7 separate regions of the Homo sapiens genome follow, and all the other regions are linked to region 1. The links are contacts of gene promoters, found by promoter capture Hi-C in blood cells and fetal thymus (Javierre and others, 2016). All regions are on one chromosome and are shown on one strand. The core of a region is centred on a gene start or on the middle of the fragment in contact, and the rest is flanking DNA. Distances in the headings are between cores, read along the strand shown. Region 1 holds the start of JADE2 (jade family PHD finger 2). Region 2 has its middle 40 kb from the start of VDAC1. Region 3 has its middle 26 kb from the start of TCF7. Region 4 overlaps SKP1 (S-phase kinase associated protein 1). Region 5 holds the start of PCBD2 (pterin-4 alpha-carbinolamine dehydratase 2). Region 6 overlaps PPP2CA (protein phosphatase 2 catalytic subunit alpha). Region 7 holds the start of C5orf24 (chromosome 5 open reading frame 24).

Region 1 (2,881 bases), core at 262-2,761:
GACCCACCCCCTCCCCAGCTAGAGGCATTCCGAGGAGGTTGGAGCTTGACCCCCGATTCCTCCCCAACCAGGAGGCCAGTCCTTCTCCTTCCTCGAGAGAAGGTGAGCTCGGCGGGCGCAGCGGGTTGGGTGGGTGTGGCCCGCGGCTCCGGGAACAGACCCAAGGCCCCGCCACCGCCGGCTAGCAGCCCGACAGCCCGCCCGCCTGGCGAGCGCAGGCTCTTCTTCCAGAAACTGCGAGGATCCGAGCGTACTGTTTGTGCACCACAAGGTCAAGTCGGGAAGTGGAGCCGGAGGAGGAGGGGCGAGGAGGCGAAGGGTGGGGAGAGGGGCGCCCCGCTTCCTCGCCATGTGCCAGCCTTTGGAAGTTACCCCTCGGTTTTTAACCCTTTCGGGGTAATGGGAAGGAAGAGCAAGGAGGAAGGGGTCGCCCCGGGGCAAAATCCTGCTGGGGCCAGGATGTGCAACCACCCACCCACCCGCTCATCACTGCCTTCTCCACCCCCCGGAAATGCGGGGCAGCGCTAGGCGCCAGGAGGCACCCGGGAGGGGGGAGGGGGCGACGAGCCCAATGGGGACCCTCTCTACGGACCGCCCCTCTTTTCTTGAGGTCGCCTACAATTTCAAGTTCCCCCGCCCGGAATGTTAGTTTTCCATTTGGAGTGGGTGCGGGGAGGAGGGCCGCGCCCCCTCCCCAAGACTCGCGTTCGCCCCTCCACTCCCCTCCTGCCAGCACTTTCTGCTCACTTCTGGTGCTGCAAAACGCCACGCAATTTATTCGATTCGCATTTTAAAACCAGCGATTCAGAAGCAGGGCCTAGGGCGAGGGTCTTCCAGCGCTGGAGCCCCGGGGGGCGGGGTGCTCAGTGCAAACCTCGTTCCCTCCGCGAGTGTCGCCTCCAGGCTGTTATTTGCAAAGAAACGTCTTTTTGACGCAGGGAGAAATGGCAAATTTTAAGTACGTCATTAATATGGCGCCAAAAGATTTTTTTAAGTATAAGCTCGCTTTTTTTTTTTTTTAAGGTTGCGGGGGGCGCCGCCCGGGTCTGGGGCGCGTAGGGGGCGGGGTGTGAGCAGAAAGTGTGAGTGAAAGAGTGGAGGGGCGGGGTATGTGTGTGAGTGTGTGAAGTGTGAGCAGACCTGATGGGACTTGCACGGGCGCAGCCGCCGCTCGGGCCCGGCCCTGGGGACAGGGCGGGCTAGGGGCGCCCCAGAGTCCATGGGGAGTCCGGGCCCAGGGTGCCAGCAGGCGTGGTGGTGGGGCTGCGAGGGAGGGCACCCTTCCCCCACGGGGCCCGCAACGCTACCTGGACTCCCCGCCGGAGCCAAACAACTGGGCGGGGGGTTGGGGGGGCGGCGACGGGGGTGTCGGGAGCGGAGATCCGAGTGAATAAGAAAAAAGTGGCTACTCCCCCTCCCTCGCTCCTCCTGCCCGCCCCCACCCCACCCCCACCCCAACACATTTTTTTTTTCTAAAGAGATCACAAGGAAGTCTTGGTTTAAAAAGAAACAGAAACATACACAGGGGGTTGGTGAATGGTGCCGACCGCGGCCATCGCAGTTGGAGGCTATTTTTTGGGGGGGGTGAGTAGCGTCCATGGAGTTACTTTGCGCCCACTCCTAGCGGCACCGGCTTAGGTCCTGCGGGCCGACCGTCCCCGGCGGGGGGCGTGGGGCCTGGGACGCCGCGGGCCCGGCCGCCTCCCTCGCCGCGACCCCGGATGGATGCGCGCCCCCCGCCCTCCCGCGCCGGCCCCAGGAGCTCCCGGCTTCGGGAGCATCCTTCCCGCGCCGGTCCCTGCAGCGGCGCGTAGCCGAGGGCAGCGCCCGTCAGGGGGGCACCGCGGAGCAAGGTAAGATCCAGCCCCCGGCGGATGGGCCCTGCGCATCTCCACGACGTTATTTGGCGTTTTTGCAACAGATCTGCCAGCGCTCTTCGCTCCCTCGCTCTCTCTTGCTCGCTCGCTCCCTCTCTCTCCTGCTGGCTGCCTGTTCTAGGAAGCCAGCGCGGAGAGGGGGGGGATGCACAGCACAGGGGAGAGAGATTGCGCATGTTGGTCAGTCGTGTTTTAAAGAGTACAGTGCGGGGAGGCTGAGAGGGGCGCATGCAACAACAACTTTTGGAAGGGTGAGCTTGGCGACCTTCTTTATTAATGACTGCGGCAAAGCGCCCCCGGGCCGGCGAGGGGGCGCGGGCGGGCGGGGGCGCGCCAGGGCTGCAACTTCCCCGCGGGCTCCGGCCGGGCGTAGGGGCTGCGGCGGGAGATGGGTACGGTGGGGAGGTCGAGCGGCCCGGGCGGGGGCTCCGAGAACCTGGAGCTATCTGCCCTCCTGTCTCCCCGAGTTTCATTTTGTTGATACGCAGCACGTCCGGGCGCCGAACCGGGCTGAGCCGGTGCACATGACCTCGCGCTGGGCTCACGTGCAGCCGGTCCGGTCCCAGACACCTTCCGGGGGCCACCGCCTCCGCCCTGTCGCCCCCTCTCCCGGCCCGGTGCACGCGGGCGCTGCACGCGGGGGCAGCATGCTCGGCTCCTGGGGTTGGAGGCTCTGCACAAATTAGACAGTTTTTTTGGAGGGGCGGGGGACACCCTTTCCAGGTGAGTGTGGAGGGTGCGGAGCCTCGGCGCCAGGGGTGAGGACTGGGGTCGGGGGCAGCCTCCACCTCCGGGGCCGCGCGGTAGTCCAGCTGGGGAGAGGCGCTGGGAGAGTGGAAATGTACCGGCGGCGGCCGGAGCGGCGGGTGCGCGCCCGCGGGGCGACGGCAGGGGGCGTGGCCCTTGTTTACCTTCTCCCAACTCTGCCGGTTCGCGTCCCGCTTCAGGGACGGATCCGCAGTCCCCAGCCCTCTGCCTAGGGCCCTGCACCATGGGTGGTACCA
Region 2 (2,881 bases), core at 199-2,698, 480 kb before region 1:
GATGTCACTGGATCCTGCCAAGAGCCTCAGTGAACACTATGATCCTGGGGCAGGGGTGGCAGGAGAAGAGTGATCAAGGCTTCAGGGTGAATGGTGGGCCTGTCGGCCTGGCAAAGTGATATAATCAATTTTGACTGTCCAAGGGTGACCAGAGATGCTCTCCTCTGAGTGAGGATTTCTCACCTCTCCGAATAGTTTCAAATGCCCAGTCTCATGTGAGCTTCACAACTATCCAGGATATATAGAAAAGGAGCTGCTGAGGTTCAGAGAAGCAAAGCAACGTACTCCAGGTCACACAGAGGCAGGGCTAGGACAAGGGCAGCGCTGGGCCACACCCCTCCCAGGAATTAGCCCAACCAGAGCGAAATTCTAGACTGCGGGACTACCTAAGAGGTGGCTGGAAAGGACTCTCACCTCCTCCTCTCTGGTTATTCTGCCCTAGGATGGGCTGGGTAGACTTTTCTTTTTTCTTTTTTCTTTTTTTTTCCCAGACAAGGTTCACTCTGTTGCCCAGGCTGGAGTGTAGTGGTGCAATCACGGCTCACTGCAGCCTCAACCTCCAGGCTCAAGTTATCCTCCCACCTCAGCCTCCTGAGTAGCTGGTACTTACAGTTGTGCACCACCATGGCCAGCTAATTTTTGTATGTTTTGTAGAGATGGGGTCTCATTATGTTGCCCAAGCTCATCTTGAACTCCTGGGCTCAAGCGATCCACCCATCTTGGCCTCTCAAAGTGCTGGGACTACAGGTGTGAGCCACCGCGCCCAGCCTAGGTAGACTTTTATCCAGTGCCTGCATTTTTCTTAAGCTCCCATTTTTTTAGTTCTTTGGTGATAAATGGAGCACTTGACTTCCATTCTCTCACCTAATCCTCACTCCAGCCCTGACAGGTAGGTGCCCTCAGTCGCCCATTTCAGAGATGCTGAAGCTGACGCAAAGAGACGTTGATCAACCAGCCCAAGGTAACCCAGCTGATGAGCACAGACTGCGACTCAAACCAAGCCTTTCCAACTCCAGAGCAGGCGATGTTTTTGCTCAGTACCCTGCCTCCCATCCCCATCCCTTCACCAATGGAATGTTGAGTTTACACCCCCTCATTTCCGTATAGCTGTCCAAAAGCTGGGCCTCCTCCAAGATCCAAGGTAGGTTATGATTGGCAGCCTGAACTTCAGAGGCCCATCTTCCCTTGCTGGGGGCCAACTCAGACATCTGTGCTCCCAGCTCTTTCCGCCCTAGCTCCAGCTCCCATCATATGCAGGTGTCTGCACAACGGCCCCTCCAACAGCAGCCAACACCTGGGTCCCCTCCCCATCAATGGGAGATCCGCCCCATCCTTCCTGTCGGGGAACCTCCTCAGCTGCTGGGAGGCTCCCCAGACAGCTAAGGGATTTTTATGGATTAATAAAAACTTCCAAGGCCCTGCTAAGCTAGCTGGCATTTCAGTTCCCTCAGTGGACAGAAGTGTCCTCTCTTCCTTCAGAATAGGGCTCCATGGCACATTTGCATATCTGTATGTGTCTGTGTGCACATACCCATTGGTGCACGTGTGTGTGCACATAACTGTGTGTGTGTGTGCATATTGCTATCTGTGTGTGTGTGTGCGCGCGCGCACAGGTATGTAAGTGCTTATCTGGGTATGCATCTAGGTATAGAAAAGACCGTGTGATGTCCCAAGCTGTGTGTTGTCTGTGTATGTGTGCTACTGAATTATTTATTCATTCAGCAAATATTTCTTGAGCTCCTACCCCATGTGAGGTACTGCGCCAGAGCTAGGGGCACAGAAGAGACTGGCTGCCTAGAGCTCAGAGTCTTCAAGGAGCTCATCACCATGTGAAACCCCCTCAACTCTGGCCATCCTGGGGAAGGGAGGCCTAGGCAGGGGCTGTAATTAGGCCCGGGAGCCAGAGGGCAGTTTTGGCCTTTTGGGTAGCTGGTTCCAAGACAATGCCCAGAGCAGGGGCCCAGAAACTCCCAACAAGGTCGGCCCTGTGAAGTTCCATTCCTTGTGCTTCCCAATCACATCACGGGTCAAAACCCTCCAAAGCCACAGTGGACAAAGCTCCTTCCATGGGGGAGGAAGAACAGCCAGAGAACTAGATTCCCAAAGAAAGTCCACAAAATCAGAAAAATTTTAGGCCCTGCTGGCCTGGACTCATCAGCTTCAGTCAAGAAAGCATAGTGTGTGTGGCCCATCTGGCCAGCCACGCCAGTTATCTACAGAGAGGACAGCTGAAGTCCAGTGTATCAGCTTCCTACTGCTGCTGGAAAAAGTGCCACAAACTTAGTGGCTTAAAACAGCAAAATGTCTTCTATTACAGTTCAGGAGGTCAGAAGTCCTAAAACCAAGGTGCCTGCAGAGCTGCCTTCATTCTGGAGGCTTTAGGGAAGAATCATTTCCTTGCCTTTTCTAGCTTCCAGGAGCTACCTACGTTCCTTGGCTTAGGACATCATCCTCATCTTCAAAGCCAGCAGCATCTCCAAATCTGTCTCTGGCCTCTGTTTCCATTGTCTCATCTCTTCTAATATGGACTCTTCTGCCTCCCTCTTTGAAGGGCCCTTGGGGTGACATTGGGTCTGCCTGAATAATCCAGGATGGTATCCCCATCCCAAGATTTTTCTTTTTTTTTTTTGAGATGGGGTTTCACTCTTGTTGCCCAGGCTGAAGTGCAATGGTGCGATCCTGGCTCACTGCAACCTCTGCCTCCTCTGCTTCCCAGGTTCAAGTGATTCTCCTGCCTCAGCCTCCCGAGTAGCTGGGATTACAGAGGCACACCACCACGCCTGGCTAATTTTCATATTTTTAGTAGAGGCAGGGTTTCTCCGTGTTGGTCAGGCTGGTCTCGAACTCCCGACCTCAGGTGATCTGCCCACCTCAGCCTCCC
Region 3 (2,881 bases), core at 205-2,704, 440 kb before region 1:
AAAAAGAGCGGCCGGGCATGGTGGCTCACGCCTGTAATCCCAGCACTTTGGGAGGCTGAGGCGGGCAGATCACCTGAGGTCAGGAGTTCAAGACCAGCCTGACCAACATGGTGAAACCCCCGTCTCTACTAAAAATACAAAAATAAGCTGGGTGTGGTGGCACGTGCCTGTAATCCCAGCTACTCAGGAGGCTGAGGCAGGAGAATGACTTGAACCCGGGAGGCGGAGGTTGCAGTGAGCTGAGATCGCGCCACTGCACTCCAGTCTGGGAGATAGAGTGAGTGAGACCCTAAAAAACAAAACAAGCAGGGCACGTTGGTTCACGCCTGTAATCCCAGCACTTTAGGAGGCCAAGGCGGGCAGGTCACCTGAGGTCAGGAGTTTTGAGACCAGCCTGACCAACATGGTGAAACCCCATCTCTACTAAAAATACAAAAAAAAATTAGCCGGGCGTTGTAGCGCGTGCCTGTAATCCCAGCTACTCAGGAGGCTGAGGCAGGAGAATCGCTTGAACCCAGGAGGCAGAGGTTGCAGTGAGCTGAGATCACGCCACTGCACTCCAGCCTGGGTGACAAGAGCAAAACCCTGTCTCAAAAAACAAAACAAAACAAAACAAAACAAAAAAAACAAGCAGCTCTGACAACTACTTGATGAGGGAAAAAGCAGAAAATCTCTGAGCAAGGGAACCTGTCCCCAGAGCCCCCAACAAAACCCATCACAGGTCCCAGTGCTGGACTAGGCACAGGGTGGGCCAGGTGCTACTGAAAAGGGGGCCCCCAAGGCCTACTGAGCTTCCAAGCTCTCTGGGGGTCAGGAAGCCCCACTAGCCTGTGACTCCATCAGTCTTAGGGCAGGCCTAGGCCTGAGCCAGGCTGGGAGAGACAGCTGGAAGGGGGCTGACCACAGGCATGGAGGAGGCAAGGGAGAGCATTCCAGGGGTACCAGTGGCCAAAAATGAGACAGAGAAGGAGGCAAACTGGGGAAGGTGCCAGGCTCAATCATTCAATGCCTGTTTTTGTTTTCTTAACCCTTTTTATTGTGAAAAGAAAAACACTCAGGAAAAGCACATAAAGCATAAATGTATAACTTAATGAATTATGACAAAGTGAACACTTATGTAGCCACCTCCAGGATCAAGAAATAGAGCATGGCCTGTCCCCTGGAAATGTCCCACCTACATCTTTCCCCCTTGCTCCTCACTGAAGGTTACCACTATTACCACTATTCCAACTTAGGGTAATTGCTTGCAACATTCCAAGTTTTCCCCCAAGCTTACCTCTCCCCTAACACCATGGAATAGACTGTCCGGTTGTGAACTTCATACGAATGGACTCAATCACACACATCCATTCAGCTTTTGCACCACATATTATGCTGAAGGTTCATCCACGCTGTTGCATGCAGCCATGGTTCCTTCATCATCATGGCAGCTGGCCCCTTTGCCTACTTTGATGCCCTAATTCTCAGTTTGCAAGAAGCTAAGACTGTGGGAGCCCAGAGTCCTGCCTTGCCTGCACCAGCCAGGGGTGCCCAGCCTGCCACAGGCTCTAGGGCTTTGCCTGGACTTGCTTTTCTCCAGATGGCCACCTGCAGGGACAGGCAAGGACAAAGAGCAGAGTGCTCCCAACCGTCTCTGCAAAGCTTTGCATAGGGGCACACCCCAGGCTCTGAGCTGCTCGCCCCAGCCTCAGCGCAGATGACTGATGAGGACAGTAATCTATGGCTGCTCTGCCAGCTCCGAAACCAGCTGGGCACTGGGACCAAGCAATAAACCAGGCACATCCCAAATGAGAAGCAGGTGGCTTCTTAGGACCATATTTCTCAACATCCTGCCCTTATGGTTTGCCCCTTATCCAATGTGGTTCCCATTTGAAGGAGCCTATAACCCATATGAAAAATGATAGAAATTACAGCTCGCCATCCCAGCCTGGCTGTTTAGGATATTGGAAGAAACATTAAGGCAGGGCTGCCCTGATTAAAAGGTAGAGGCACTGAGGAGAGGTGGGGGGAGCCAGGCAACCCCCCATCATGCCTTTCCCTGCTCCCTTCTGCATGCAGAGTAGCCAGTTCACCTCTCCCAGGTACCTTTGAAAATGTGGCTCATGGCCGGGTGTGGTGGCTCATGGCCGGGTGCGGTGGCTCATGGCTGGGTGCAGTGGCTCATGCCTGTAATCCCAGCATTTTGGGAGGCCAAGGCGGGTGGATCACTTGAGGTCAGGAGTTCGAGACCAGCCTGGCCAACATGGTGAAACCCCGTCTCTACTAAAAATACAAAAAAATTAGCCAGGCATGGTGGCGCATGCCTGTAATCTAAGCTACTTGGGAGGCTGAGGCAGGAGAATGGCTTGAACCTGGCAGGCAGAGGTTGCAGTGAGCTGAGATCATGCCATTGCACTCCAGCCTGGGTGACAGAGAGAAACTCTGTCTCAAAAAAAAAGAAAGAAAGAAAATGTGGCTCAGTAGGAATTAATGAGGTGGGCGCCAAATTGTTCATTCTCAGGCCTCGTCCAGTCTGGGGAGGACCCAAATTTCTGCCCCAGTTCCTCCTTCCATCAGTCCCCACATTCAGGCCAAGCTAGGTCCCACCTCCGAGCACTATCCATGCTGCCTGAATGTCCTCTCACCTACCCAAGGTTTGCCCTTCCCAGGCCCCAGGAGCTACTCTAATTCTTCGTGGAATATTCCTGGGTGGTTGGTTCAGAGACCCACTGATGTTCTGCCCCCAAACGCCTGGCGTTTCTCCTCTTCTGAACCACACCAATTAGCCTTGATTACAGAATGGACGCATTGTTCTCTAACAGTTTCATATGTGCAAGCCCCAAATCCCCAGATGGGAAGGGTGCGTGGATGGTGAGGGTGGAGCTAAGCCAAGCCTCTGCTT
Region 4 (2,881 bases), core at 229-2,728, 370 kb before region 1:
AATTAGCCATCTATCACTCAAACTATGTCCCGCATTGGAAGTGTGTCAAGCAAGAGCACCTTCGACAACACTTTTCGGCCACCACTAATGATCATCTCCACTGATGCCTCAGCAGAAAGGATAACATTCAGCCAATCCTGCTTAGGTGTCCAAATGGCTCAATCTTGGGCCAAAGGACATGCTCTGAAATATTTCTTACACCATACTTCATCTTGATATGCACAGCCAGTTCTCTTACTCATTCTCTGTGACCACTGGAGGTAGTGATTTTTAACAACAGTAAACAAGAAAAAGTCATCAGGACTCTAACTGTAAAACCCCCAACATTCAAAAGACTGGTTTAGTTGAACAGCCAAAAAATAAATAAATAAAAATTAAAATTAAAAAAATTAGAATTTAGCTCACTCAAAAATTGCCCTGCCTAATGTGGGTCTGATGAATAAATGCTGATAAAATACTACTGAGTGTCAGCAAAGTACTGTGACTAATCCTGCCCTAATTTCTCTTTAGTCTATATTCTCAGGGAAATGTACCAACACCCAACCTTCTGCTGTTAGTTCCTGACTGTGCACTGCTTTTTCCTCACTTTGGCATCTGTCCACCCCCAAACAAATCCAACTTGATTCTTGAAACCAAATTAGTTTCACTTTACAAAACCTTTCGTAGCACCTTTCAGCTCTGTAGCCCCCCATTGGCTCATTAATCTGTTCTGTCCAGAAACTTTTTTTTTTTGAAACGGAGTCTCGCTCTGTCGCCAGGCTGGACTGCAGTCAGTGGCGTGATGTCGGCTCACTGCAACTTCCGCCTCCCGGGTTCAAGCGGTTCTCCTGCCTCAGCCTCCCGAGTTGCTGGGACTACAGGCATGTGCCACCACGCCCAGCTAATTTTTGTATTTTTAGTAGAGATGAGGTTTCACCATGTTGGCCAGGATGGTCTCGATCTCTTGACCTCGTGATCTGCACACCTCAGCCTCTGAAAATGTTGGGATTACAGGCGTGAGCCACCGTGCCCAGCCCAGGAACATTTTTATTAGAGTTATCCACTCCCTCCCAGCAGTATTTATGCCTTCTCTCCTGAACTACACCAAAAGCTCCCAGCTCCCTAGAGGGAAACCATGTCTAATGCTTCCTACCAAGGAGAAGCCAGGAGCTACACTTTAAGGATTCAGCCATTTTGTAAGCTTTCCCTTTGCTTGCAATCTTCTTATTCTTGACTTCTTCCTAGCTTAAAAAGTTATAGACTGGTTTCAAATCCAGATAATTGAAGATTAACTTTTCAAATCCTCAAACAACTTTGTAGGGAGAACATTTACTTGGTTGATTCCTTCCTACCAGAATGTACACTGAGCTTTAGAAAAGGAAAAATTGGTGGGTGCTGTGGCTCACATCTGTAATACCAGCACTTTGGGAGGTTGAGGCAGGAGGATCTTGAGCCCAGGAATTCGAAAACAGCCTGGGCAACATGAGGAGACCTCATCTCTATAAAAATCAATTTAAAAAAACAAAAACTAGCAAGGCATGGTAGCACACACATGTAGTCCTAGCTATTCAGGAGGCTGAGGCAGGAGGACTGTTGGAGCCCAAGAGTTCGAGGCTGCAATGAGCTGTGATCACATCACTGCACTCCAGCCTGGGGGGCAGAGGTGAGACCTTGTCTCTTAAAAGAAGAATCAAAAAGCTCTTCGGGCTACTCTGGGCACACTGCCTATGGGGTAGTCCTGCTCTGCAAGGAGCAGTTAAAAAAAATCTTCAAAAGCTAATGGTGGCAAGCAAAAGTTAAGCTTGTAAAGGGTGCTGAGAGCAAGAGGTCTGCTGCTCTCTCAATTTTCTCTTTTCTGGTGGAAAATCACCTTATATTCCCAAACTGCCTTATTGAGAGCCTAGGCAAATTAACTTAAACAAAATTTATGTTGGGATCAGAACACAGCCCATAGGATTGGTCAATTTTTACGTAAACTGAAAAATCAATGTGATTTGGAATATCTGCCTGCCCTAAGTGAGATGCCCACAGTGACTCACTGTTACTATCCTCCCTCCCCAGCTAGTTTTAAGATAAGCTCAGCATTACTATGATGTCATGTTACAAGGCTGCAGTTACCTGTCCAACCAAGTCACAATATAGTTCTTGCTTAATTCCAGGAGCTGGTGTATTCTGACAGTTGTAGAGTAAAAAGTCACAGCTATAATCCCACACAGGGAGCTACAGGATGATTTTGTGAATCTCTGAGAAAATATAAGAACTGTAAAGCAGTATCTATTTTGTATACCAAGAATAGATTAAGGCAAGCTAACACATGGCACTTCAAAAGAGTAACTTGCTTCTACAACTTAAGAATTATTAGGGCCGTGTGCGGTGGGTCACACGTGTAACCTCAGCACTTTCGGAGGCTAAGGCGGGCGGATCACAAGGTCAGGAGTTCAAGACCAGCCTGGCCAATATGGTAAAACTCCATCTCTAATAAAAACACAAAAAAATTAGCCAGGCATGGTGGCATGTGCCTGTAATCCCAGCTACTCGGGAGGCTGAGGCAGGAGAATCACTTGAACCCAGGAGGCGGAGGTTGCAGTGAGCTGAGATCGCACCACTGCATTCCAGTCTGGGCGACAGAGTGAGACTCTGTCTCAAAAAAAAAAAAAAAAAAAAAAAAATTATTAGAATTTGAGGGGGCACATCTTTAGCCTATGACAATGTTAAGGAGAAAATAATAAGCTAACATTCAGGAAGGTTTTGGTTTACTTTTAGATCACAAGTGACATAATCAATGAAAAGGTGAGAAGCCAAAGGACTGCCATGGAGTCCTTGAAAGGACTTCATCATTAAAAGCAGCACACTGCAGAAAGCAGCATGTTGTTTACAGAGGAAACCGACAAACATCCTTCAA
Region 5 (2,881 bases), core at 223-2,722, 380 kb after region 1:
AAAGGGTATTTTGCTGTCGATGGAATGCAGTGGCGTGATTTCAGCTCACTGCAGCCTCCCGGGCTCAAGCCATCCTCCCATCTCAGCCTCACGGATAGCTGGAACTACCAGCACGTGCCACCACGCGTGGCTAATTTTTGTATTTTTAATAGAGATGGGGTTTTGCCATGTTGCCCAGGCAGATCTCGAACATCTGGCCTCAAGTGATCCTCCTGCCTTGTCCTCCCAAAGTGCTGTGATTACAGGTGCGGGCCACCATGCCTGGCCTGCTTAAACTATTCAGTTAAAAACAAACAAAAAAGAGGCCGGGCGCGGTGGCTCACGCCTGTAATCCCAGCACTTTAGGAGGCCGAGGCGGGCGGATCACGAGGTCAGGAGATTGAGGCCATCCTGGCTAACACTGTGAAACCCCGTCTCTACTAAACATACAAAAACAAAATTAGCCGGGCGTGGTGGCGGGTGACTGTAGTCCCAGCTACTCGGGAGACTAAGGCAGGAGAATGGCGTGAACCCGGGAGGCGGAGCTTGCAGTGAGCCGAGATCGCGCCACTGCACTCCAGCCTGGGCGACAGAGCGAGACTCCGTCTCAAAAAAAAAAAAAAAAAAAAAAGATACAAGTGAGTATTCTTAATAGTATGTCAATTACATCTCAAAAAAGTCAAAAAAAAAAAAAAAAAAAGAATGAAAGAATACCTCCCCAAAAATGATACAAGAAAAGATTCACCTAAATCTGTTCACAGCTGTCTGCAGAGCTCCTACTGTGTGCTGAGCCTGGGGGTAAACAGGGCACGGACACGTTTGGGAGGGGATTACAGGCCGGGTTTCCACACTTTTTGGTCCAGGCAAACCCAGACGAGCCAGCTGGCTCAAGAACTTGGCAGCTGCGTGATGACTGAACAGAGGCTGCGTTCGAACCCACTACTGCAAGACTTAGGAGCCCCCGATGGGAACTGCCGTGGTTCACTGCCCCAGCCCCGCCGCTCAACTGCCCCGCCCTGGCCTACGACATCCTCCTGCCCGCATGGACTGCGCGCAGCGCCGCCAAGCGGGGAGCCCAGCTCGGTGCTAGCGCCCGCGAAGCGGAGGAGGCCGGCGCCCGAGGCTGGGCGAAGTTCCTCCTAGCGCAGCGAGGACCGGAGGGCAAGGCCAGCGCGCGCCGGGCGACCTGCGTCCCGGGCACAGACGCGACGGGCCCGCACGGGGCGGGGACCGCGCGCGCCTGCTGGGCCTACGGCTGTGGGGCGCGCAGAGTCCACCTGGCGGCCAAGGGCGCTGGCGACCGCTGAAGCTCCTGGGGGTGTTCGGGGTCCGGGCTGCGCCTGTGCCCGCGGGAAGGCTGGGCGCTTCCCACACACAGACCCCGCTCCGGGCCAGCCCCGCAGGGAGACTACCAGGGCTGGCGGTAGCTGGGCGTGGTCGGGTCGGGGGCGGCTGTGGGCGGCCGGCAGGCAGCGCGCGGGGCAGCCCTCGGCAGACGGCCAATGGCGGCGGTGCTCGGGGCGCTCGGGGCGACGCGGCGCTTGTTGGCGGCGCTGCGAGGCCAGAGCCTAGGGCTAGCGGCCATGGTGAGTGCACAGCGGCCGCGTGGGTGGGGGTCCGGGGTCGGGGGGCGGTGCGAGGCCCGGCGGCGTCGGCTGAGGGACCAGCGGGACTGGGGCGAACCCGGCGTGGGCCGAGCCTTGGAGCTCGGGCGTCGGGTCACCGCGTCCCGGGACTGACCACCTGTCCGGTGCGCCGCTCAGAGACCGGGGTGGCCGCAGCCTCCGCCACTTGCCCTTGACTTTACACTTCCGCCGAAGCCTACGAACTTGCCAACCGGAAACAAATGGGAACGAATTTTGTTCAGCAACTACAAAAGGCAGATGTGAAAAGTAGTTGCAGAACAATTCGGTGCCCGCTGCCGCTCGTTGTGCTGAGGACGAACGGCGCTGCGGGCCTGGCTCCCTATGGCGGCTCCCTGCTCGCGCTTCACTCCAAGGGGAACCCACAGAGGTTTTGGAGGAGTTATTAATAAATTGTCTTTTTTGGTGACATATTGACTTTTCTTTCCTTTTCCAAGGGGCCGTCAGTTTTCCTGCTGTAGAAATTAATATTTTGGAGTAAATGGAGGGAAAGTTTTAACATGCAGCACCACCTAGTGGAAAAGTGGTGCGTTAAACTCACCATCTCATTTTAAGTTGCATTTTAACCGCCCATTTCAGTTTGAAATGTTTTGTTTTGTTTTGTTTTTTCGACACGGAGTCTCGCTGTATCGCCGAGCCCGGAGTGGAGTGGCGCGATCTCGGCTCACTGCAACCTCCATCTCCTGGGTTCACGCTATTCTCCTGCCTCACCCTCCCGAGTAGCTGCGATTACAGGCGCGTGCCATTTCGCCCAGGTAATTTTTTATATTTTTAGTAGAGAGGGGTTTTCGCCATGTTGGCCAGGCTAGTCTCGAACTCCTGACCTCAGGTGATCTACCTGCCTCGGCCTCCCAAAGTGCTGGGATTACAGGCGCGAGCCACTGCGCCTGGCCTGAAATTCTTTAATAGAAGAATTTTTTTTTTTTTTTTTTTTTTTTTTTGAGAAGGAGAATCACGCCGTCACCCAGGCTGGAGTGCAGTGGCGCGATCTCGGCGTATTGCAAGCTCCGCCTCCCGGGTTCACGCCATTTTCCTGCCTCAGCCTCCCGAGTAGCTGGGACAACAGGCGCCCGTCGCCACGCCCGGCTAATTTTTTTGTATTTTTAGTAGAGGCGGGGTTTCACCGTGTTAGCCAGGATGGTCTCGATCTCCTGACCTCGTCATCCACCCTCCTCGGCCTCCCAAAGTGCTGTAATAGAAGAAATTTAAAATAGCTCGAAGACGGAGGAAGATAGGCACTCCGCCGCTTCTTGTCCACG
Region 6 (2,881 bases), core at 165-2,664, 330 kb before region 1:
GACTTACATTGCAAGTTGGACTCAACAGCAGGAGTACATTCTGCAGATTTTACATCTGGTATATTTCACCACACCATGTAACCTACTTTCTGATATGTTTGGATATACCTGACCTTAAAGCTCCCCTTTGACCAGGCCTGCCAAACCCAATTACTAGCTCTTGCTCCTATCCCCAGGTTCCAATGCCATACTCAGAGCAGTTCTAGAACTGCAAAAAGCCTAATGATTAGTCTCCTTGCAGATCAGAAGGTATGCTAAGCCTTGAGGTAGAGGCACTCAACAGCTTTGGGCATTTCTAATAGCTTTAATTAGACATTCCATTGTGGTCTTCCATAGTGTTCTATGGAGCAAGCACTCTTAACTTCCTATCACGATTCTGGCCTTTGACTTCCACCATCAGTAATCTTGCTTGCTGGTGGCTACAGCCTACCACTGCACTAAGGAAGAACAGCTAAATTATTTCTTGGAAGAAAGCTTTTAAAAATATATTTTTTCGAGACAAGAGTCTCGCAGTCTGGAGTGCAATGGCGCGATCTCAGCTCACTGCAACCTCTGCTTCCCGGTTTCAAGCGATTTAGTCTCACCCTCCCAACTAGCTGGTACTACAGGTAAGTGCCATCACACCCAGCTAGTTGTTTTTTTAGTGGAGACAGGATTTCACCATGTTGGCCAGGCTCATCTTCAACTCCAGGCTCAAGTGATCCACCCACCTCGGACTCCCAAAGTGATAGGATTACAGGCGGGAGCCACTGTGCCCAGCAGGAAGAACACATTAAAGTCCTTCCCACTAACAACACTGAATGGTTGAGAAGATTGTACACCATGGCTGAGGCTATCTCAAAATAGATTCCGAAGGGACCCAAGTAGTAAAATAAGAGCAGTGGTTTGCAGCATTAGCAGCATCGTACGCAGAGTAGACAAAATCCTGGCTACTTCTCACAAGCCTGTTGAGGATACAAACTAGTCATCCCTCAGTAATCTTGGGAGACTGGATCCAGGACACCTCCCTTGGATAGTCAAGTCTGGAAGTCAGTCCCCTTTACCAGTGGGTTCTGCATTCAAGAATACTGCATTTTTTGGCCAGGCGCGGTGGCTCATGCCTGTAATCCCAGCACTTTGGGAGGCTGAGGCAGGTGGATCGCCTGAGGTTGGGAGTTTCATACCACCCTGGCCAACATGGTGAAACCGTCTCTACTAAAAATACAAAATTAACTGGGCGTAGTGAGCCACGCCTGTAATCCCAGCTACTTGGGAAGCTGAGGCAGGAGACTTGCTTGAACTCGGGAGGCACAGGTTGCAGTGAGCCAAGATCGTGCCACTGCACCCCAACCCGGGTGACAGAGAGAGACTCCGTCTCAGGGGGAAAAAAAAAAGAACACTGCATTTTCAATCCCAGGTTGGTTGACTCCATTGACTCATTTGATGCAAACTCTGTGGATACTGATGGCTGGCTATACTTTAAATTATGGATTACTCATAATACCTAAACAATGAAATTGCTATGTATATAGTTATACTGTGTTTTTTTTTTTTAGACAGAGTCTTGCTCTGTTGCCCAGGCTGAAGTGCAGTGGCTCTATCTTGGCTCACTGCAACCTCCACCTCCCAGATTCAAGTGATTCTCCTGCCTCAGCCTCCTGAGTAGCTGGGATTACAGGCACACGCCACCATGCCCAGCTAATTCTTATAGTTTTAGTAGAGACGGGGTTTCACCATGTTGGCCAGGCTGGTCTTGAACTCCTGACCTCCGGTGATCCCCCCACCCCTGCCTCCGCCTCCTAAAGTGCCGGGATTATGGGCATGAGCCACTGCTCCTGGCCACTGTATTGGTTTTTATTGGTTCCTTTTCCCAAAAATATTTTCAGTCCATGGTTGGCTGAATTCTCAGATGTGGAACCCTTGACTATGGAGGGCCGACTGCACTTAATTAAATTCAACCTCAGACATGAGGGTTTGTGCTTTTCCTTAAAAAACAAAAAAGTGTGACTTTTTCCAGCATTCACTCATTAGCTATAATTATTTCCTCTTTCACTCTTGGGAATGAGGAATTCTGGTCCAGGCATGACAGCAAATACAAAACAAACTGGGGTCTGTTGCCTATATCACTTACTTGGTTACCACTGATCTTTGTATGTTCAACTTTTAAACAATTCAAACACAGTCCACATTTTTCTTTCCTCAAATTTATATACCAGCTGATAAAAATACATTTCAATCTATTTACAGGACAGCACTGCCTACAAGCCAACAATGCTGTGTTAGCAACATCCCATTTTTTTCTAGACAGTAGTACTTGTGCAATTAAATATATATAATAAAAAGTAGAAATAAAATGTACTTATATTCCTAAAACATAAAGCTTTAAATGTAATTGGAAAAAATATAGAAATCACCAGGCATGCCCAAAATAATACATCTACAACCTTCATAAGGCTATTTGCTAAAACAGATGTATACTTGTGAAGGGAAAAAAATCTAAATTAAAAAAGTTTATGAAGACTAGAAATATGTCAAAACAATGTGTGAGGACGAAGGCTTTAATGCAAAATAGCTTTAGCTCACAGAACCAAAATCCATCTGAAAACAAACAAGCCTATTACCAAACTATAGGTTACTAAACTATAGGCCCATTTCTAAGAACACATTTATGGTTGGAAGCAAAGGAATATTTATACTAAACAGGTAAAAGTCACCACTGAAACAGAGAGTCGCACGGTACATTTTAATTCCTTATCAACATCCATGAACCACCACCATGTATCCCAATTTTCTTAAGTATGTACTTAGGAAACAGCAGTGAGGTGTTTTTGTTTTTTGAGATGGAGTTTTGCTCTTTTTGCCCAGGCTGGAGTGCAATGGCACGATCTGGGCTCACTGTAAC
Region 7 (2,881 bases), core at 115-2,614, 320 kb after region 1:
TCACATGGCTTATCTGTCTCCAGTCCCTCAGTAGTTTGAATGAATGGGCTTGCTTGTTTCGTGTGTTGTGTCCTGGCTTGTGTGTTTGTCCAGAAAAGTTGTTTCTCCTCCTTTCTTTCCTACTGGCAGGGCAGTACCTGGCTCAGGGCTGTGCTTATGGTAGAACTCAGTTCTATGAATTGTCCATCCTCAAATATCCTTCATTACATGGGGGAAAAGGGCAAGCATCCTCCTCTAGCCTCTTCCCACTGCTTAATAAAGTGTCTCCCTTTCAGTAGCTGCCCTAATTCTGGATCCTCTCCATTCTGACATCTGGAAATTCACAGGAGGAAGGAGTGAGGAAATGAATCCCTTCTAAGTGGGTTTGTGTGAGGTGACTGATATGTCAGATATCTCACAAGAAAAACATAATAGCGGTAGTTTGTTGTTCCATCCTTTCCTGTGATTATGGAATAATGAATGCGACAATTCCTGGGGCGTGGTGGCTTACGCCTGTAATCTGCGTGGATCATAGGATGTCCCATAAAATAAAGCTTTTCATTATCACATGATCCTGGGCATGAAGAGTCCCAACTCCCCTGACTATCATTTATTTGTCCTGTATCTAAGAAATGGGGTCAGCAGGAGTTCCAGCATCTCAGAATTGTGGTGAAAACCAATACAAGTAAGGAAGTTATTAATTCCCCATTTGGTGGGTTCCTCAACCCCAGCCACTGGGGACGGTCCACGCCGGATCACCAGCAGCTCAGGCTTAAGGCCACGACGCGCAAGCGCAGCCTGCCAGCCTGGCTCCCTCCCAAAGCTTGCGTGCAGGTTGGCGGCGGGAGATCGGGTCTCGCGATGCGAGTGAGCGTGTGCGTGCGCGGCCCTCGCGAGCTCGCGCACGCCGCCTCTAACACTACAGGGTGGTAGCGGCCTCTTCGTACTGCGTCCGGGGCAGGACCGTGCGCGGCGGCCGCGGCGGGTGCTGGGAGCCAGCGCCTGCCTCGCCGCCGCCCTCGCTGCCTGCCACTCCGTCTTGGCCCGTTCTCCGCACCGTGCAGAGGCGGCGGGCTGGGGAGGGAGCGGCGCCAGCACGAGGTTCCCAGCCGCTGGGAAGCCCCTAGACGCGCCGAGGGGCCGGGCTACGAGCGGCTGAGGTAGGTAGGGGTGCGCGGGCTGGTCAGCCGGCCGGGAGCGGGGTAGGGCGGCGGCGAGAACGGGCGCCTCGCTGACCGGGGAGAAGAGGCCTCCTGCCAAGGGGCCCTAGTGTAGCCGGAGTGAGAGGAGGGGCCCCGGACGTAGCCTGCTCTTCCCCGGTGTGGAGCCATTACGGGGGGACATTCCTCCTGCGGCGGGGGGAGGGAGCCCCCTTTCTTTTCTTTGAGAGGTCAGAATCCGCAGTCCGCCCTTCGCCTTTAAATAAAAGCCTGCCGGCTCGAGATCGGCGTCGCGATGGAGTGCCCGTGGACTTCTACGCTTGCGGAACTCCGAGTGGACGGATAGCGGCTTATGAATTTTGCTTTTTAGAGGGTACACAACCCTTTCTCTAGGGTGGCGTGCATCTTCTGCAAACTTGTTATTGCCAATACGCTAATAGTCGCTTTCAGCACACAACAGGTAATACATTCTAAACGCCTCGTGTCAAAATAAGGAGAGTCCTTATTTGTGCACCGTGGGGCACAGTTAAGGAGCAGGAAGAAGACAAAGGAGGCCGTTATTTATGTGCCGTCCTATTATCAAAACTTTCCGTGGTGGGGCAGGGTGCGTGGCTATTGGCCTCTGCTGAATGGACTTTCAGAGTGATTGAGGTGAGTTGCAAATCTTCATTTAGAATTATGAAACGTATATGATTATACATAATAGTTAGTCAAATGACCTGAAATAAATCTCTGAGAATTACGTGATCTTTGATCTTTGGAGAACAGAACTTGGGTTTCTTGAAAGGAAGCTTTCTCCATGTTTAGAAAGCTTCAGGGATGCTTTGTGAAGTTACTAAAAATAGTTACATTTCTTTATGTTGGCAGTAATGACTGCCACATTCAAGAGAAGAGAAAGGAATTGTTCTATAAAGAACGGCTCATTTTAGGGGTTAAACTTTAGGAGTTAAACACAATAAAACAACTTCAAGGATGGTAAGTTTTAGCTTATGCTTTAAGTATTCGAATTTAGTCACAGTCCAAATATATAGAAGCTCTTAGTTGACTCCTGTACATTCAGGGAACTATTTATTGGTTGTTTTTGTTTGTTTTGTTTTTTTTGAAACGGAGTCTCACTCTGTCCCCCAGGCTGGAGTACAGTGGCGCGATCGCGGCTCACTGCAACCTCTGCCTCCCGGGTTCAAGCAATTCTCCTGCCTCAGCCTCCCAAGTAGCTGGGATTATAGGCATGCGCCACCACACCCAGCTAATTTTTGTATTTTTAGTAAAGATGGTGTTTAACCATGTTGACCAGGCTGGTCTCGAACTGCTGACCTCGTGATCCACCCTTCTCAACCTCCCAAAGTGCTGGGATTACAGGCGTGAGCCACTGCACCCGGCTTCAGTAACTATTTAAAAAGATGATCTTTAACCTTTGATAGTCTACACAACCTGTTCTATAACTCTTGGCTTCTATTCAGTCCACGCTGTCTGGAAATGTAGTATTCATCCTATTTTTTTTTTTTTTTTCCTGAGATGGAGTCTGTTTCCTAGGCTGGAGTACAGTGGCACGAACTCGGCTCACTGCAACCTCCGCCTTTGGGTTCAAGCGATTCTCCTGCCTCAGCCTCTGGAGTAGCTGGAGTTACAGGCACCCGCCACCATGCCTGACTAATTTTTTGGATTTTTAGAGAGAGGGTTTCGCTGTGTTATCCAGGCCAGGCTACTCTGGAACTCCCGACCTCAACTGATCTGCCCACCTG

Evidence for each region. The method cuts DNA at HindIII sites, captures the fragments that hold promoters and counts their contacts. A CHiCAGO score of 5 or more calls a contact.
Region 2: a fragment that was not itself captured here is called in contact with the fragment with the promoter of JADE2 in region 1 in 2 of 17 cell types (fetal thymus and neutrophils); the score reaches 6.1 in fetal thymus.
Region 3: a fragment that was not itself captured here is called in contact with the fragment with the promoter of JADE2 in region 1 in 1 of 17 cell types (activated CD4 T cells); the score reaches 5.5 in activated CD4 T cells.
Region 4: a contact is called between a fragment that was not itself captured here and the fragment with the promoter of JADE2 in region 1, in 3 of 17 cell types (activated CD4 T cells, total CD4 T cells and non-activated CD4 T cells). The highest score is 8.4, in activated CD4 T cells.
Region 5: the fragment with the promoter of PCBD2 here is called in contact with the fragment with the promoter of JADE2 in region 1 in 1 of 17 cell types (neutrophils); the score reaches 6.3 in neutrophils.
Region 6: a fragment that was not itself captured here is called in contact with the fragment with the promoter of JADE2 in region 1 in 4 of 17 cell types (naive CD4 T cells, neutrophils, naive CD8 T cells and 1 more); the score reaches 7.1 in naive CD4 T cells.
Region 7: a fragment that was not itself captured here is called in contact with the fragment with the promoter of JADE2 in region 1 in 3 of 17 cell types (naive CD4 T cells, non-activated CD4 T cells and fetal thymus); the score reaches 5.7 in naive CD4 T cells.

What each region holds. Positions count from the first base shown.
Region 1 is chr5:134,524,159-134,527,039 of GRCh38, forward strand. It overlaps JADE2 (jade family PHD finger 2), which reads left to right and starts at 1,512. Exons shown (of 12, transcript NM_001388185.1): 1 at 1,512-1,853. LOC124901070 (a long non-coding RNA gene) reads right to left here and starts at 1,444. Exons shown (of 3, transcript XR_007058942.1): 1 at 1,308-1,444; 2 at 748-925. RefSeq lists silencers at 282-601, 1,182-1,231, 1,252-1,471, 1,602-1,681, 1,712-1,971 and 1 more. The HindIII fragment of the contact is 6,085 bases long and covers 1-2,881 here.
Region 2 is chr5:134,043,064-134,045,944 of GRCh38, forward strand. It overlaps a transcript of VDAC1 not described here. Among named protein-coding and RNA genes, the nearest start is that of VDAC1, 40 kb to the left of the region's middle. The HindIII fragment of the contact is 4,466 bases long and covers 1-2,881 here.
Region 3 is chr5:134,087,564-134,090,444 of GRCh38, forward strand. It overlaps a transcript of VDAC1 not described here. Among named protein-coding and RNA genes, the nearest start is that of TCF7, 26 kb to the right of the region's middle. RefSeq lists an enhancer at 1-135. The HindIII fragment of the contact is 370 bases long and covers 1,270-1,639 here.
Region 4 is chr5:134,151,825-134,154,705 of GRCh38, forward strand. It overlaps SKP1 (S-phase kinase associated protein 1), which reads right to left. Exons shown (of 6, transcript NM_170679.3): 6 at 1-2,881. Among named protein-coding and RNA genes, the nearest start is that of SKP1, 24 kb to the right of the region's middle. The HindIII fragment of the contact is 600 bases long and covers 1,179-1,778 here.
Region 5 is chr5:134,903,659-134,906,539 of GRCh38, forward strand. PCBD2 (pterin-4 alpha-carbinolamine dehydratase 2) reads left to right here and starts at 1,473. Exons shown (of 4, transcript NM_032151.5): 1 at 1,473-1,565. The coding sequence starts at 1,482. RefSeq lists a silencer at 1,029-1,788 and enhancers at 1,386-1,970, 1,971-2,556. The HindIII fragment of the contact is 31,150 bases long and covers 1-2,881 here.
Region 6 is chr5:134,191,811-134,194,691 of GRCh38, forward strand. It overlaps PPP2CA (protein phosphatase 2 catalytic subunit alpha), which reads right to left. Exons shown (of 7, transcript NM_002715.4): 7 at 2,522-2,881. Among named protein-coding and RNA genes, the nearest start is that of SKP1, 16 kb to the left of the region's middle. The HindIII fragment of the contact is 1,885 bases long and covers 473-2,357 here.
Region 7 is chr5:134,845,074-134,847,954 of GRCh38, forward strand. C5orf24 (chromosome 5 open reading frame 24) reads left to right here and starts at 895. Exons shown (of 2, transcript NM_001135586.1): 1 at 895-1,139. RefSeq lists an enhancer at 606-1,341 and silencers at 861-1,240, 1,271-1,320. The HindIII fragment of the contact is 1,128 bases long and covers 801-1,928 here.